5 separate regions of the Homo sapiens genome follow, and regions 1, 2, 3 and 4 are each linked to region 5. Evidence: promoter capture Hi-C in 16 types of primary human blood cells and fetal thymus (Javierre and others, 2016). All regions are on one chromosome and are shown on one strand. The core of a region is centred on a gene start or on the middle of the fragment in contact, and the rest is flanking DNA. Distances in the headings are between cores, read along the strand shown.

Region 1 (2,700 bases), core at 73-2,572, 590 kb after region 5:
CAGTGACTTCCTGAATGCTGCACACCAAGTTAATTAACAAAGCTGGAATCAGAATCTGGGCTTTCTGTATCTTAACATAATCTTCACCATACCATGGGTGCGTAAACCAATATATATGAAAAACCCAAGGAGGCTATTTTTATAGCCCCCTCCTGTAAGTGGAGCTCAAGACACTTACAGAGCAAAGTTGTTACAAGTTGCAGCACTTGCACTGATCTTTGTGAGTTTGGCCCTGAGTACCTCATTGGCTAGACCCTTTTCATGAGTTCGATGAGGGAAGAGACAGTCCATTGACTCTCCTTCTCTCCTTCCTGATGAACATGGTGGACTCCCCGACCTAGGGCTGGCTTGAGGCCAGGCTGGCTGGGCAGCAGCCCATGGTGCTAAGCTATAGAGCCACCAAAGAATGGGGGGCATTTAACAGGATGGAGAAAACTATCTTTATCAGAACTCCTCTCAAAGACAGTGGGTTATGTTGGAAGGAATGGTTTTATGAAGTCATTGGAAACCCCCACATGACTTCTCCTTCCCCTTCTCATCAAAGAGAAAATTTAAGTCACAAAGGAGGGTTTTAAACTACCTACTTAATCTAAAGAAGTGAGTATTGATTTTGGCAAGTGGGTGGGTTTGAGGTAACAACTTTGGAGCCAAAGCTGAATGACTAGTGACAGTAGAGGAGAAATTAAAGCACAGCCAACACAGCCACCAGGGAGCCTCCCTCTGCCCTCCCATCACAGAGCTCACCCAGGTGGACAACGTTTTAAAGAACCATCCTTTAAAGGGGACAAAATCACTCATTCTTCCAGGGTGGCTTGGACTGGCCTTGCCATCACAGAAAGAGAATCCGACTAAACCAATGCCAGATGGTTGAGTTCAGTTCACTCCTGAAGCAGAGGGAGAACAGATTATGCCTTCATGGCTTAGGGAGGTCCTTTATGGCCATCCTGACAGAAAATACTATTAAAAATGTCTAATAGTTCTTACAAAATATATAAAAGGAAAAAAAAAAACTGGAGCCCATATTTTTGGCCAAAATTTTGGCTATAATGTTTGCTGACAGTCAAGTTCAGCTTTGTGTAATTCTTAAAAAGAATGAATCACCTAGCCCCAGAACAAAAAAAATGTAGATCACAATGCTGCCACTGAATTATTCCTATAATCTTGCACATGTTATTTATCCTTGCACAAGTACTTGATATTGAATTAATTGATAATGAGTGAATTAATAAATATTAGGTCATGTTAGTAATAATCTTGTATATGTAGGAATCCTAAAGAGGGTGATAAGCCCTATTATGAGGGCAGTTGTTTGGCCATGAGAGTCCTGTATTTGTATAAAATTTTATTAGTAACTAAATTAAAATTTTTCACACAAGATATAGATAGATAGATTTTTTTTTTTTTTTTTTTTGAGACAGAGTCTCACTCTGTCACCCAGGCTGGAGTGCAGTGGCGCCATCTCGGCTCACTGAAAGCTCTGCCTCCCGGGTTCACACCATTTTTCTGCCTCAGCCTCCCAAGTAGCTGGGACTACAGGCGCCTGCCACCTTGTCCGGCTAATTTTTTGTATTTTTAGTAGAGATGGGGTTTCACCATGTTAGCCAGGATGGTCTCGATCTCCTGACCTCGTGATCCGTCTGCCTCGGCCTCCCAAAGTGCTGGGATTACAGGCGTGAGCCACCGCTCCTGGCCCCAAGATATATTTTTTCAAGGAAGAAAAGCAAAGAGATAATGAAAACATGCTCAAGAGTCTTAACATAATCAAACATGATATGAAACACATATCATATCATGTTTGAAATGCACATTGAGTTTGTCAACTGAAGTTTCACAGAATCCCACTGGGAATTTCCCTGGAGGAAAATTAACCTTTAATTATTAAACTGTTTTTGGATGCCACTGGCATCATCTAAGAAAATATCAATTCCTTCAAAACACACAAATATGTGTTGATATAATGCCAAACTCGTATGTACACACACACACAGAGGCAAACACACAAATACATATATAATTCCACATCACATTGATGCATTAAACTTTTTGTGAAAATTATTTTACGTGTTAAATTATGTTAAATTATGGGTAGCAGCTACTGTGTTTAGACAGCTTAGAAGTCCAGAAGTAGAAGGAACAGTTGGAAAATAATCAGACGAATCCAGCTGACTGACATATCTATCATGGAAACAAAAAAAAAATGCACTACAATAGGAAGTGGCTGTCTTTATTTTTCAAACTAATATTGTTCTTTGATGAGCTACAGAGTGCATTTGTTTAAGCAGTTGTTGGAAAGCAGACCCTGCATGGTAGACTGGAAAGAACATTGGACTAGAACTGGGAAAATCAGCCATGTGACCTTGTTAAGATAGGGACATTCGTTTTCTATAGCCTCAGTTTCCTCATCTGTAAAATGGCCATAAAAATTCCAATTCTGCTTATTTCATAAAGATGATGTGATCAACTCCCTCACTTCACACATGAGGAAACTCTCTTGAGGTCATATAGCTAATTGGTGACAGTATCAGGACTCAACATAAAAGTCTTTTGAAGACTTGGACTTTCTGTAGTAACAAAGCTGCCATTGAAGCAACAGATAGGAAAGTGCTTTGAAAAATGTCACATAAGGGTTTTGTTCAGTAGAAGTAATAGGACTATATCTGCCAAAGTCATTTTGTGGCAATTAATTAGGAAATGCCTTTT
Region 2 (2,700 bases), core at 18-2,517, 780 kb after region 5:
TGCAGCCCACAGATCAAGGAATAATTTTGACTTTCAAGTCTTATTATTTAAGAAATACATTTTATGAGGCTATAGCTGCCATAGATAGTGATTCCTCTGACGGATCTGGGCAAAATGAATTGAAAAGTTCCTGGAAAGGATTCACCATTCTAGATTCCATTAAGAACATCCATGATTGGCCAGGTGCTGTGGCTCATGCCTGTAGTCCTAGCACTTTGGGTGGCCGAGGCGGGTGGATCAGCTGAAGTCAGGAATTCGAGACCAGCCTAACCAACATGATGAAACCTCATCACTACTAAAAATACAAAATTACCGGGCATGGTGGCACATGCTTGTAATCCCAGCTACTTGGGAGGCTGAGGCAGGAGAATCGCTTGAACCCAGGAAGCGGAAGTTGCAGTGAGCCAGGATCACACCCTTGCACTCCAGCCTGGGCAACAAGAGCAAAACTCTATCTCAAAAAAAAAAAAAAAAGAACATCCATGATTCATGGGAGAAGGTCAAAATATCAACATTAACAGGAGTTTGGAAGAAGTTGATTCCAACCCTTGTGGATGACTTTGAGGAGTTCAAGATTTCATTGGAGGAAGTAACTACAGAAGTGATGGAAACAGCAAGAACTAGAATTAGCAGTGGAGCCTGATGATGTGACTGAGTTGGGGCAATCTCATGATAAAACTTTTTTTTTTTTTTGAGACAGAGTCTCCCTCTGTCGCCCAGGCTGTATTTGTATTTTTAGTAGAGATGGCGTTTCACCGTGTTAGCCAGGATGTTCTCGATCTCCTGACCTCGTGATCTGCCTACCTCGGCCTCCCAAAGTCCTGGGATTACAGGCGTGAGCCACCATGCCCGGCCAGGAATGTACATTTTTAAAGACATAATGCTATTTCACACTTAATAGACTATAGTATAGTGTATAAACATAACTTTTATCTGCACCGGGAAAACAAAATATTATGTGACTTATTTTATTGTGATATTCATTATATTGCACTGGTTTGGAACCAAATCTTCAATATCTCTGAGGTATTCCTGTGCCAAAAAAATGAAATTTTGGCCCAAAAAATGAAAAAGTTTTAGATCCTGCATGAATGCCAATGATTCCTTCATTCTCTGGTCCTCCACAGTCTGAATCCCAACTCCCCTTGGGCCCTGTTTTTTTCACCATTACATCTCCCAAACTAATATAAAGTGAATGGGTGCATCTCTTCCTTAGGCTTTGAAAAATTGTTTTGGAGTTTGCTGTGAAAGGATAAATCAACTCACAACTTTCTCTAATAACTAGTTTATTAATATCTGTCCAATAAGAGAATTATTAAAGAAATGAACACAAAACAGAAAAGTTAAGAAGGACTTCCTTTTCTTCCCCTAATTTAAATTTGTACAGAGATGGTAAGTGGTTATAGTGAGTGGTCATGACAAGCCACACATGTGAACATCACTACATTCGCTTATTTGGCAGTGAATGATGTGGAACACAGAGTGACATACAAGAGGCCATGATCAAGAGGGACTTTCCATAGTTGATGAGTAAATGCATTTCATTCCTGTGCAGTCACTGATGAGTGGAAGTTAAATGCTGAAGATGTCTACGAAGGCGGAAGTCACCTTGCACGGGCTTGGCTAGAGAAAGCCTTCTGCTCTTCTGCCTGAGCACTGATTGATGGGTGGAAAATCAGTAATGTTATTTGAGTCTTCCCATCTCTGATGTCTTTTATTGCTACCTCCTGAAATGTGAAGGAGTGTTTCTAATACCCCATTCATGCACTTAACCACTTAAGTATGAGATCAGTATTCTTCCATTACATGATTTAAGGCTGAAGTTCTAGCTTTTTAACCAACCCTCCCCAGAAAGACCTTGCGATGACCCTTCTTACTGATCTCCATCCTGATTTGTGCACACATTTGCTGGGTTCTGTGCCAGGCACTGGGGTTGGGGAGAGGGTGATGGTGTGAACAAGGGATATGGAGGCATGTTTTCTGCTCTTGAATGTCTCCAGAGGGGGACTTAGCAAGTAAATATGTGGTTTGTGTAATATGGAAAGAGCTGGGATGGGTGGATATACAAAGTATTCAGAGAGAGTAAGAAAGGAGACATAAGCGTCGTTTGTCCTGGACTTATTGCCGTTTTTCCTTAAACAGTGTTGGGGGGAGAGAGACAATTTTGAAGTGACATTTGAATGGGGCTATCAAGGGTGGGCCATCAAAATTGAACATGGAGGGAGGAGCCAGATGCTGCAGGAGGAAACAGAATGGGCTGAGAAAGGTGCAAAAAAAGCAGTACAAAGGCATGAACAGGCCTGCAGAGCTCTGGGGCTGTTCAGGAAGGAGGGATGGAGACAAGGCTGGGAAACATTTGGACATTACGATGCAGGTAACTTGAACTACTAAAAATATCTTGATGCTGGGGAGGGATTTAGTCACACTCGATTATACAATAACTTGATGGTAATATGAAGGGTTGATTGGAGGAGAAAGGATGTGGGGCAGTGAGAACAGCTGGGGCCCTGAGTGGTGGCCTGAGTAAGGGACAGGAGAGAGCTGTGCCAATACCAACAGGAGGTGGCAATGAAGCCAAACGATATTTATCGTGGTCAAACACTTCGACATGGTGGCTGATTGGATGTGTCAGTGGAGGGTTTTCTGAGAATGACCACCGTTTATTACTTGCAATATTAATTTTGTAGCTATAATATTTTC
Region 3 (2,700 bases), core at 134-2,633, 800 kb after region 5:
GTCAAAAGATATGGCGCCATATCAGGGTAAGAATCAATAATTAGGAACAAATTTTATTGTATGCACTAACAGGCAGTTTTTAATGATTAATAATGCTTTGTTTAATGAACAGTCTATCATTTGTACTTTTTGGCATGTTTATGTCCACTTCTTCAGATGTTTTTCTCTGCTTTTGGTGGGAAGGTGTCTCCACCAGTTGGTATTTTTAGAGAACAAAGAATAAAATCTGAAAACTCAAAATGACAAGCAATGTAATGACCAAAGCCTCTTATTCTATTCAAACAACTTGTATTTTATATTATCAGTAGGATAAAGGGACACCATTTATGTATAGTAACACTTTCCTGCATTTGGAAAGATGTTGTGAAAGGCCATGCTTTTGTGTATTTTCCGCTTTAGGAGTACCCTCGACATTGTTTGGAAGTTGGGTGGGAAGAAAGATTGAAGGAGAGGAGAGAACAAGGAAAATGAAAGGAAACATGATAAGAAAGCCATAAACTAATAAATTATTAATCCAATAAGAACCCTAACCAATAGACTCCTAATATCTCACTTCTACTCCGGGGAGCTTTGGTGTCAAAAAGAATGTTCATAAATTGTAGTATACCTCTGGCTGGGTGCGGTGGCTCACGCCTGTAATCCTAGCACTTTGGGAGGCTGAGGTGGGCAGATCACCTGAGGTCAGGAGTTTGGGACCAGCCTGGCGAACGTGGCAAAACCCCGTCTCTACTAAAAATATAAAAATTAGCTGGGCGTGGTGGCAGACGCCTGTAATCCCAGCTACTCAGGAGGCTGAGGCCGGAGAATCGCTTGAACTCGGGAGGCGGAGGTTGTAGTGAGCCGAGATCACATCACTTCAATTTAGTATACCTCTGAAGTCATTGTCAATGACTGTATGTGACAGAAAGTTACTGAGAAAAAGTGGGATCAAGTCAGACCTTCTGAGACACCTTTTTAAAGAGATTTAAGTCATGTATTTTTAAAAAGATGTTTTATGATTTAGGAGGCCAGTTAACATTTAGTTAAATATCTAGCATTTGTTATGTCTCATATAGTCATTCTTAGCTCACATTTGTCACTTGAAAGTTGTACTTTCTATACTCTATAAAAAGAGGTGTGTGGGACATAACATCAGGAGGTGTGCGTTCTAGTCCTGACTGCTGCTACCTTAGTGACTTGGGCCAGTCATCACAGAGGTCAGATCATTTTTATAATAAGAGGATTAGCCTGCAAGGTATCTTGTCTCTAAGAGCCTGTGACTTAATGTAACATTGGATTCAAGAGACTTCAGGTTAAGTCCTAATCCTACACAGTACTACCCCATTGTACTGCCCCCCAGGCACTGTTACACTCAGTGGCAGCTGTGACCCTCACACTGACTTACTGCTTGCCTGCAAGTGGTATGAGAAAATCTTTCTCCCACATAGTTTGAGGATTATATGAGATAATATATGTGATAATGTTTTATACCTGGTATCATACTGATGACGGTATGTGCTGTGGAACTGCTAAGGTAAGAGTGTAAGGAGAGCCTATGATGTTTTTGCTTCTAGCCTTGACTTCACCTTGTTTTAAAAAACATTTGAAACTGGATTATTTTGCGAGTTTATGCATAGGTATATTTAGAGATAGGCTCTTTAAAAGTGGCCAATTTAAAATAAACGTGGGCTGGGTGCGGTGGCTCACACCTGTAATCCCAGCACTTTGGGAGGCCAAGTGGGCAGATCACCTGAGGTCAGGAATTCGAGACCAGCCTGGCCAACATGTTGAAACCTGTCTCTACTAAAAATACAAAAATTAGCCAGGTGTGGTGGCGGGCACCTGTAATCACAGCTACTTGGGAGGCTGAGGCAGGAGAATCGCTTGAACCTGGGAGGCAGAGGTTGCAGTGAGCCAAGACCCCACTATTGCAGTCCAGCCTGGGCAACAAGAGCGAAACTGTGTCTCAAAAATAAATATATAAGTAAGTAAAAAATAAATGTAGGCCAGGTGCGGTGGCTCATGCCTGTAATCCCAGCACTTTGGGAGGCTGAGGTGGACAGATCACCTGAGGTCAGGAATTTGAGACCAGCCTGGCCAACATGGTGAAACCCCATCTCTAATACAAATACAAAAATTATCTGGGCGTGGTGGTGAGCACCTGTAATCCCAGCTACTTGGGAGGCTGAGGCAGGAGAACCCTTGAACCCGGGAGGCAGAGGTTGCAGTGAGCTGAGACTGTGCCATTGCAGTCCAGCCTGGGCAACAAGGGCGAAACTCTGTCTCAAAAATAAATACATACATAAATAAAAAATGAAATAAATGCAGGCTGGGCATGGTGGCTCCTGCCTGTAATCCCAGCACTTTGAGAGGCTGAGGCAGGTGGATCACCTGAGGTCAGGAGTTTGAAACCAGCCTGGTCAACATGGCGAAACCCTGTTTCTACTAAAAATACAAAAATTAGCCGTGCGTGGTGATGCATATCTGTAATCCCAGCTACTCAGGAGGCTGAGGCAGGAGAATCACTTGAACCTGGGAGGTGGAGATTGCAGTGAGCCGAGATCTTGCCACTGCACTCCAGCCTGGGTGACAGAGTGAGACTCCATCTCAAAAAAAAAAAAAAAAAAAAAAGGAATGTATTATATAAAAGCAGGTGGCAGTGATCTCTGATCTCTTTATTTAACAAACATTTATTGAGAGCCCTCCAGGCTCTTGTGTATT
Region 4 (2,700 bases), core at 135-2,634, 690 kb after region 5:
GGAGCAACTGAATATCCAAAGGTAAAAGAATAAATTTGGACCCCTAGCTCACACCATGTTAAAATATTTTAAAAATGGATAGTGTAGTGCCTGCTACTCTGGAGGCTGAGGTGGGAAAATCATTTGAGCCGAGGAGTTTGAGGTTGCCGTGAGCTGTAATTGCACTGCTATACTCCAGCCTGGGCAACAGAGCAAGACCCTGTATCTTGAAAGAAACAACAAAACACACATTTTAAAAAACCACTAAATTTAAAAAGAGCCCAAAGTATAAGACTCTTATATGAAAATGTGTGTAAATCTTCATCATTTAGGCATTAGTTTCCTAGATATGATCCCAAATGCCTAAGTAAACAAAGACAAAAATAGACAAATTGGATTTCATCAGCATCACAGCATCACAGTGCATTAAAGGACACTATCAAGAGACTGTCCTAAAGAAAAGAAAACCCACAGAATGAAATAAAATACCTGCAAACCATGTATCTCATAAGCATCTAGTATCTAGAATATATGAATGAAGCTCTCTGACAACTCAACAGTAAAAAACTCCATTAAAAAAGTGAGCAAATGATTCGAACAGACATTTCTCCAAAGAAGGCATACAAATGGCAACCAGGTATTTGAAAAGGTGCTCAACATCATTGATCATCAGAGAAATGCAAATCAAAACTACAATGAGATATCATTTCAGACACACTAGAATGACTATAATAATAATTTTTAAAAGGGAAATAATATTGGCAAGGATGTGGAAAAATTGGAACTCTAATAAATTGCTGGTGGGTATATAAAATGGTACAACCACTGTGGAAAACAGCTGGTTCCTAAAAAAGTTAAACATACAGTTCTCATATATAACCCAGCAATTCAATTCCTAGGGATATAGCCAAGAAAATGAAAATGTATGTTCACACAAAAGCTTACATTTTAATGTTCACAGTAGCATTATTCATAATAGCCAAAAAGTGGAAACAACTCAATTGTCCACTAACAGATGAATGAATAAATAAATTGTGGTCTATCCACACAAAGAAATACTATTCAGCCACAAAAAGGAATGAATTACTGACACATACAACAATGTGGATGAACCTTGAAAACACTATGCTGAGTAAAAGACGTCAGACAAAAAAGGCTACATGTTGTAGCCTTTTATTCCGTTTATATGAAATGTTCAGAATGGGCAAAACTATAAAGAAACAGAATAGATTAGGAAGTGTTCAGGGCTGATGGCCGGGAGACTGGGCAATGGCTGCCCAAGAGTATGAGATCTCCATTTGGGGTGATGAAAACATCCTGGAATTAGATAGTGCTTTTGGTTGCACAAATTGTGAATATGATACACTGAGAACCACTGAATTGTGCACTTTAATTTTTTTTTTTTTTGAGATGGAGGTTCTCTCGTGTTGCTCAGGCTGAAATGCAGTGGCACAATCTCAGGTCACTGCAACCTCCACCTCCCGGGTTCAAGCGATTCTCCTGCCTCAGCCTCCCAAATAGCTGAGATTACAGGCATGCACCACCTGCCCAGCTAATTCTGTATTTTTAGTAGAGACGGAGTTTCACCATGTTGGTCAGCCTGGTCTCAAACTTCTGACTTCAAGTGATCCACCCGCCTCGGCCTCCCAAAGTGCTAGGATTACAGGCGAGAGCCACTGTGCCCTGCCAATTGTTTGTACACTTTAAAATGATAATTTTATGATACGTAAATTGTATCTTAAAAAACAAGGGAAAAAATACGTAGAAACAGTTTAGACATGCATTATCTTCTGTGAATAGCATTGTCAACAATCCAACATAAATTAATTAAAAAACAAGAATCAGGCTCATTTTTTACAATAAAAGCTTTTGATATTTTTATACATGCTGTTTATTCAAAACTTATAGGTTTTCTATATGGGAAATTACAATTCCTTTCATAACCTTTTGTTTAGTTTCAATGGTAGAATGACACAAATATTTTAATGTAAAAATGATTGGCTACTTTAATTGCCTATACACACACTTTCAATAAGTATGTACCATTTTTGTAATTCTTGTCTTTTTTTCTATTTTAAATTTGTTCTGATAACATTGATTGAAATATAATATTTTGTCTAGGGGCCGGGCACGGTGGCTCATGCCTGTAATCCCAGCACTTTGGGAGGCTGAGGCGGGCAGATCACGAGGTCAGGAGATTGAGACCATCCTGGCTAACACGGTGAAACCCTGTCTCTACTAAAAATACAAAAAATTAGCCGGGCTTGGTGGAGGGCGCCTGTAGTCCCAGCTATTCAGGAGGCTGAGGCAGGAGAATGGCATGAATCTGGGAGGCAGAGCCTGCAGTGAGCTGAGATGGTGCCACTGCGCTCCAGCCTGGGTGACAGAACGAGACTCCATCTCAAAAAAAAAAAAAAGAAATATAATCTTTTGTCTCTTGAGTCTGGTAATAAAACATTTGGGCTTGTATTTTGTGTGCCTTTGCTTTTTAAATTTTATTTTTCTAGTAATTTATTTCTACTATATTTTAAAAAGTAACCTTCTGCAATGGATTTGAAATTTTAACACAAAAGCTGGTCCTTCACCACAGATGCTTTGCGAAGCACTTGTGTGGGGCACCTGGATGTGGACGGAGTACTCTGTAATAAATTATCTACAACAGAAGATTTACATCTTCCTAGGTAAATGTGTGAAATTCCTTCATTCTTTATCTTTTGTAAC
Region 5 (2,700 bases), core at 39-2,538:
AAGGAGAATTTGTTGGGAAAGGTGGAAAAAGAAAAGGAGTGAGATTTCTCCGCCTGTTAGCAAGGGGAATAAAGGAGAGCAAATCGCTGGGTGACCAGGAAAGGTTCACAGAGAAGAAAACACGAGGCAGCAAAAACCGAAGGTGGGGACAGAGAAAATGCTGGCAGGGGGAGGTGCATAATATAAGGCTATGGGAAGCCATGGGAACAAGAGCTGAATAAATTCACAGTATTATTCTATTTATCCACATCCCTATGCAATGCTGGGAAGCAAATGACCCACAGGGTTTTGTTTGCTTGCTTTGGTTTGGTTTTCCTGCACTTGGAGGGAGGGGAAATTTGCTCAAGCTCTGTAACCTTGCAGTCAGATGGGTGGCCCAGCCCAAGTCACCCGAGCTCCCCCTGACGCTGGCAGCAGCGCGGGCTTCTACCTGCCTGGGGCTGGAGTACCAATTCCCCCACCTCCTGCACAGAATGGGACCAAACCAACTCCGCCAATGCATTCCCTGCAGTCCACAGACGATGGGCACCGGGTCCCAAAATCTTTCCCCTGGGACGAGACTCCGCTGGTACCAAGAGAAACTTGCTTTCTAAACTAAGCTCTCCAACCGCATCGCTCCGGGTCCCCGGAGGCACCAGCCACGCCACCCGATGGAGCAGAGCGTTACAGGGCTCCGCCGCGCCAGGCTCCCCAGACTCTGCCACCCCCACGGCCGCCCCTGTAGGCCAGGCCCCGCGAGCTGGGAGCGCGGGTGAAGTTACAAGGCGACCTCCCTGCAGGCTTCCGGCTGGAAACGGCCTTTTGCGAGAACACCACGTGCATGTCCTCCCAAAAGCGATGGTGCCGGGTGGCCCAGAGGGCGCAGAGCCACCGCCGGGCAGGGAGCGGGCGCACGGACCTAACAGGTGAGCACCCGGTAGCCTCCACCGGCGGGGGAAGCAGAGGCCAAGCAGCTGGGAGCTGGACATCCCGAAGCCCCGAGGCAGTCCACTGGGACTCAAATCCTCCCGATATTCTACCTAACAGCCCATGCCCGCGCCCGCCCGGCAGAGCCGCGCGCCCGAAGCCGTCTTACCTCCTGCGGCGCCTCTTGGCGGAGCCTACAAAGTCAGCGTGTCCAACACGTCCCTGCCCTCAGAGCCACCTCCGGTGCCGGCGGAGCCCCGAGGTCGCCGCACTCTCGGAGGAGCCTGGGATCCAGTGCGCGCCCTCGGAGCTAGCGACCGGCAGGGCGATCGCGGGAGAAAGCGCAACGCACACTCTCCTCCCGCGCCGCGGCAGCACACTCAGCCAAGCCACGCCCCAGCCCCGCTCCCCACCAGGCCACGCCCCCAGCCCGGCTCTTCCCCCCGCCCCATATCAGGCCACGCCCCCGGTTAGCTCACTCCCTCAGGCCACACCCTCGGCCACGCCCCCACACTACCAACCACAGCCGGGGACCCCACCCATCAAAAACAGTTCCCCGGCCAGGCGCAGTGGCTCTTGCCTGTAATCCTAGCACTTTTGGAGGCCGAGGTGGGCGGATCACCTGAGGTCAGGAATTTGAGAGCAGCTTGGCCAACATGGTGAAACCCCGTCTCTAATAAAAATAAAAATTAACCGGGCGTGGTGACAGGCGCCTGTGATCCCAGCTACTCAGGAGGCTAAGGCAGGAGAATCACTTGAACCCGAGAGGCGGAGGTTGCAGTGTGCCGAGATCGCGCCACTGCACTCCAACCTGGAGGACACAGCCAGACTCCGTTTTTTAAAAAAAGAAACAAACAAAAATAGTTCCCTCAGCCACCAGCCAGCCCCCACCCCCCAGGGCGGGAAGAGGAGTCTCATCTCCGGGGCAACCGTGCCCCACTGCCCACTGCCTGGGCCAGAAGTTCACTCCCTGTGAAAGGAAAACGCAGGGTAGGGATTTTTAAACCTACATGTTTCCCAGGGCCTGGGGCAAGTCTTGAGTAGACTGTTGCAGTAAACCGACTCAAAGGCCTATCACCTTTCTTGTGAGGCTCAAGGCCTAATCATTAATTGACATGAAAACCACAGAAGAGAAGCAAACCCTTCTGTGCTGGGATCTGTGCCCCAGTGCTCCATGTTCCCTGATAGGCAGCTAATGGAATTCATAAAATAAATGCATGCTTTCTACCAGTGTAGTTTTTTAGATGATTCATTTAGTGGCCAGCACTATTATTTATAAATGTCTATTGTCTTTTATAATCAAAGAACAATACCCACAATCTGTAAAATAAAAAACAAAAATTATATTACCCAATGAAAAGTGAAAATTAATTTTATGTATGTTTTTTAAAATATTGAAAAAACTCTGTATGACATTATAATGGTGGCTTCATGTCATTATGCATTTCTCAAAACTCACAGAATGAACAGCATGCGGCGTGAGCCTCCTGTAAGTAATGGACTTAGTTCATCTTAATGTAACAACATGGGCCCATCAATCATAACACATGTGCCACTCGAATGTAAGATGTCAGTACAAGCAGCTGTGTGTGGAGGGAGGGGCGTGAGGGAGTACATCAGAACTCCGTGTACTTTCCATTCCTGTTTTCTAAACCTAAAACTGCTCTAAAAATAGTCTATTAATTAAAGCACACTCCAAGATTAATGATAATTATCTGTGGGTGGTGGAAATATGGGCAAATTTTATTTAATTCTTTGAATTGTTATTGAAATTACCCCAAGTTTTAACAATGA

The links. The method cuts DNA at HindIII sites, captures the fragments that hold promoters and counts their contacts. A CHiCAGO score of 5 or more calls a contact.
Region 1: a fragment that was not itself captured here is called in contact with the fragment with the promoter of SPATA13 in region 5 in 1 of 17 cell types (fetal thymus); the score reaches 5.1 in fetal thymus.
Region 2: a fragment that was not itself captured here is called in contact with the fragment with the promoter of SPATA13 in region 5 in 1 of 17 cell types (monocytes); the score reaches 6.3 in monocytes.
Region 3: a contact is called between a fragment that was not itself captured here and the fragment with the promoter of SPATA13 in region 5, in 1 of 17 cell types (fetal thymus). The highest score is 5.8, in fetal thymus.
Region 4: a contact is called between a fragment that was not itself captured here and the fragment with the promoter of SPATA13 in region 5, in 1 of 17 cell types (fetal thymus). The highest score is 8.5, in fetal thymus.

The regions. Positions count from the first base shown.
Region 1 is chr13:23,572,773-23,575,472 of GRCh38, reverse strand. All of the region lies in intron 1 of TNFRSF19 (TNF receptor superfamily member 19), which reads right to left. Among named protein-coding and RNA genes, the nearest start is that of TNFRSF19, 3.7 kb to the right of the region's middle. RefSeq lists enhancers at 473-622, 1,093-1,262. The HindIII fragment of the contact is 6,515 bases long and covers 1-2,700 here.
Region 2 is chr13:23,383,135-23,385,834 of GRCh38, reverse strand. All of the region lies in intron 2 of SACS (sacsin molecular chaperone), which reads left to right. Among named protein-coding and RNA genes, the nearest start is that of SACS-AS1, 34 kb to the left of the region's middle. RefSeq lists enhancers at 1,416-1,645, 1,666-1,725. The HindIII fragment of the contact is 4,314 bases long and covers 1-2,700 here.
Region 3 is chr13:23,362,492-23,365,191 of GRCh38, reverse strand. SACS (sacsin molecular chaperone) reads left to right here. Exons shown (of 10, transcript NM_014363.6): 6 at 1-26. Among named protein-coding and RNA genes, the nearest start is that of SACS-AS1, 55 kb to the left of the region's middle. The HindIII fragment of the contact is 3,544 bases long and covers 1-2,700 here.
Region 4 is chr13:23,473,448-23,476,147 of GRCh38, reverse strand. The region is part of intron 2 of LINC00327 (long intergenic non-protein coding RNA 327); the gene reads right to left. Among named protein-coding and RNA genes, the nearest start is that of LINC00327, 5.3 kb to the right of the region's middle. The HindIII fragment of the contact is 926 bases long and covers 922-1,847 here.
Region 5 is chr13:24,159,308-24,162,007 of GRCh38, reverse strand. It overlaps SPATA13 (spermatogenesis associated 13), which reads right to left and starts at 1,288. Exons shown (of 13, transcript NM_001166271.3): 1 at 1,076-1,288. RefSeq lists a silencer at 1,338-1,397. The HindIII fragment of the contact is 10,500 bases long and covers 1-2,700 here.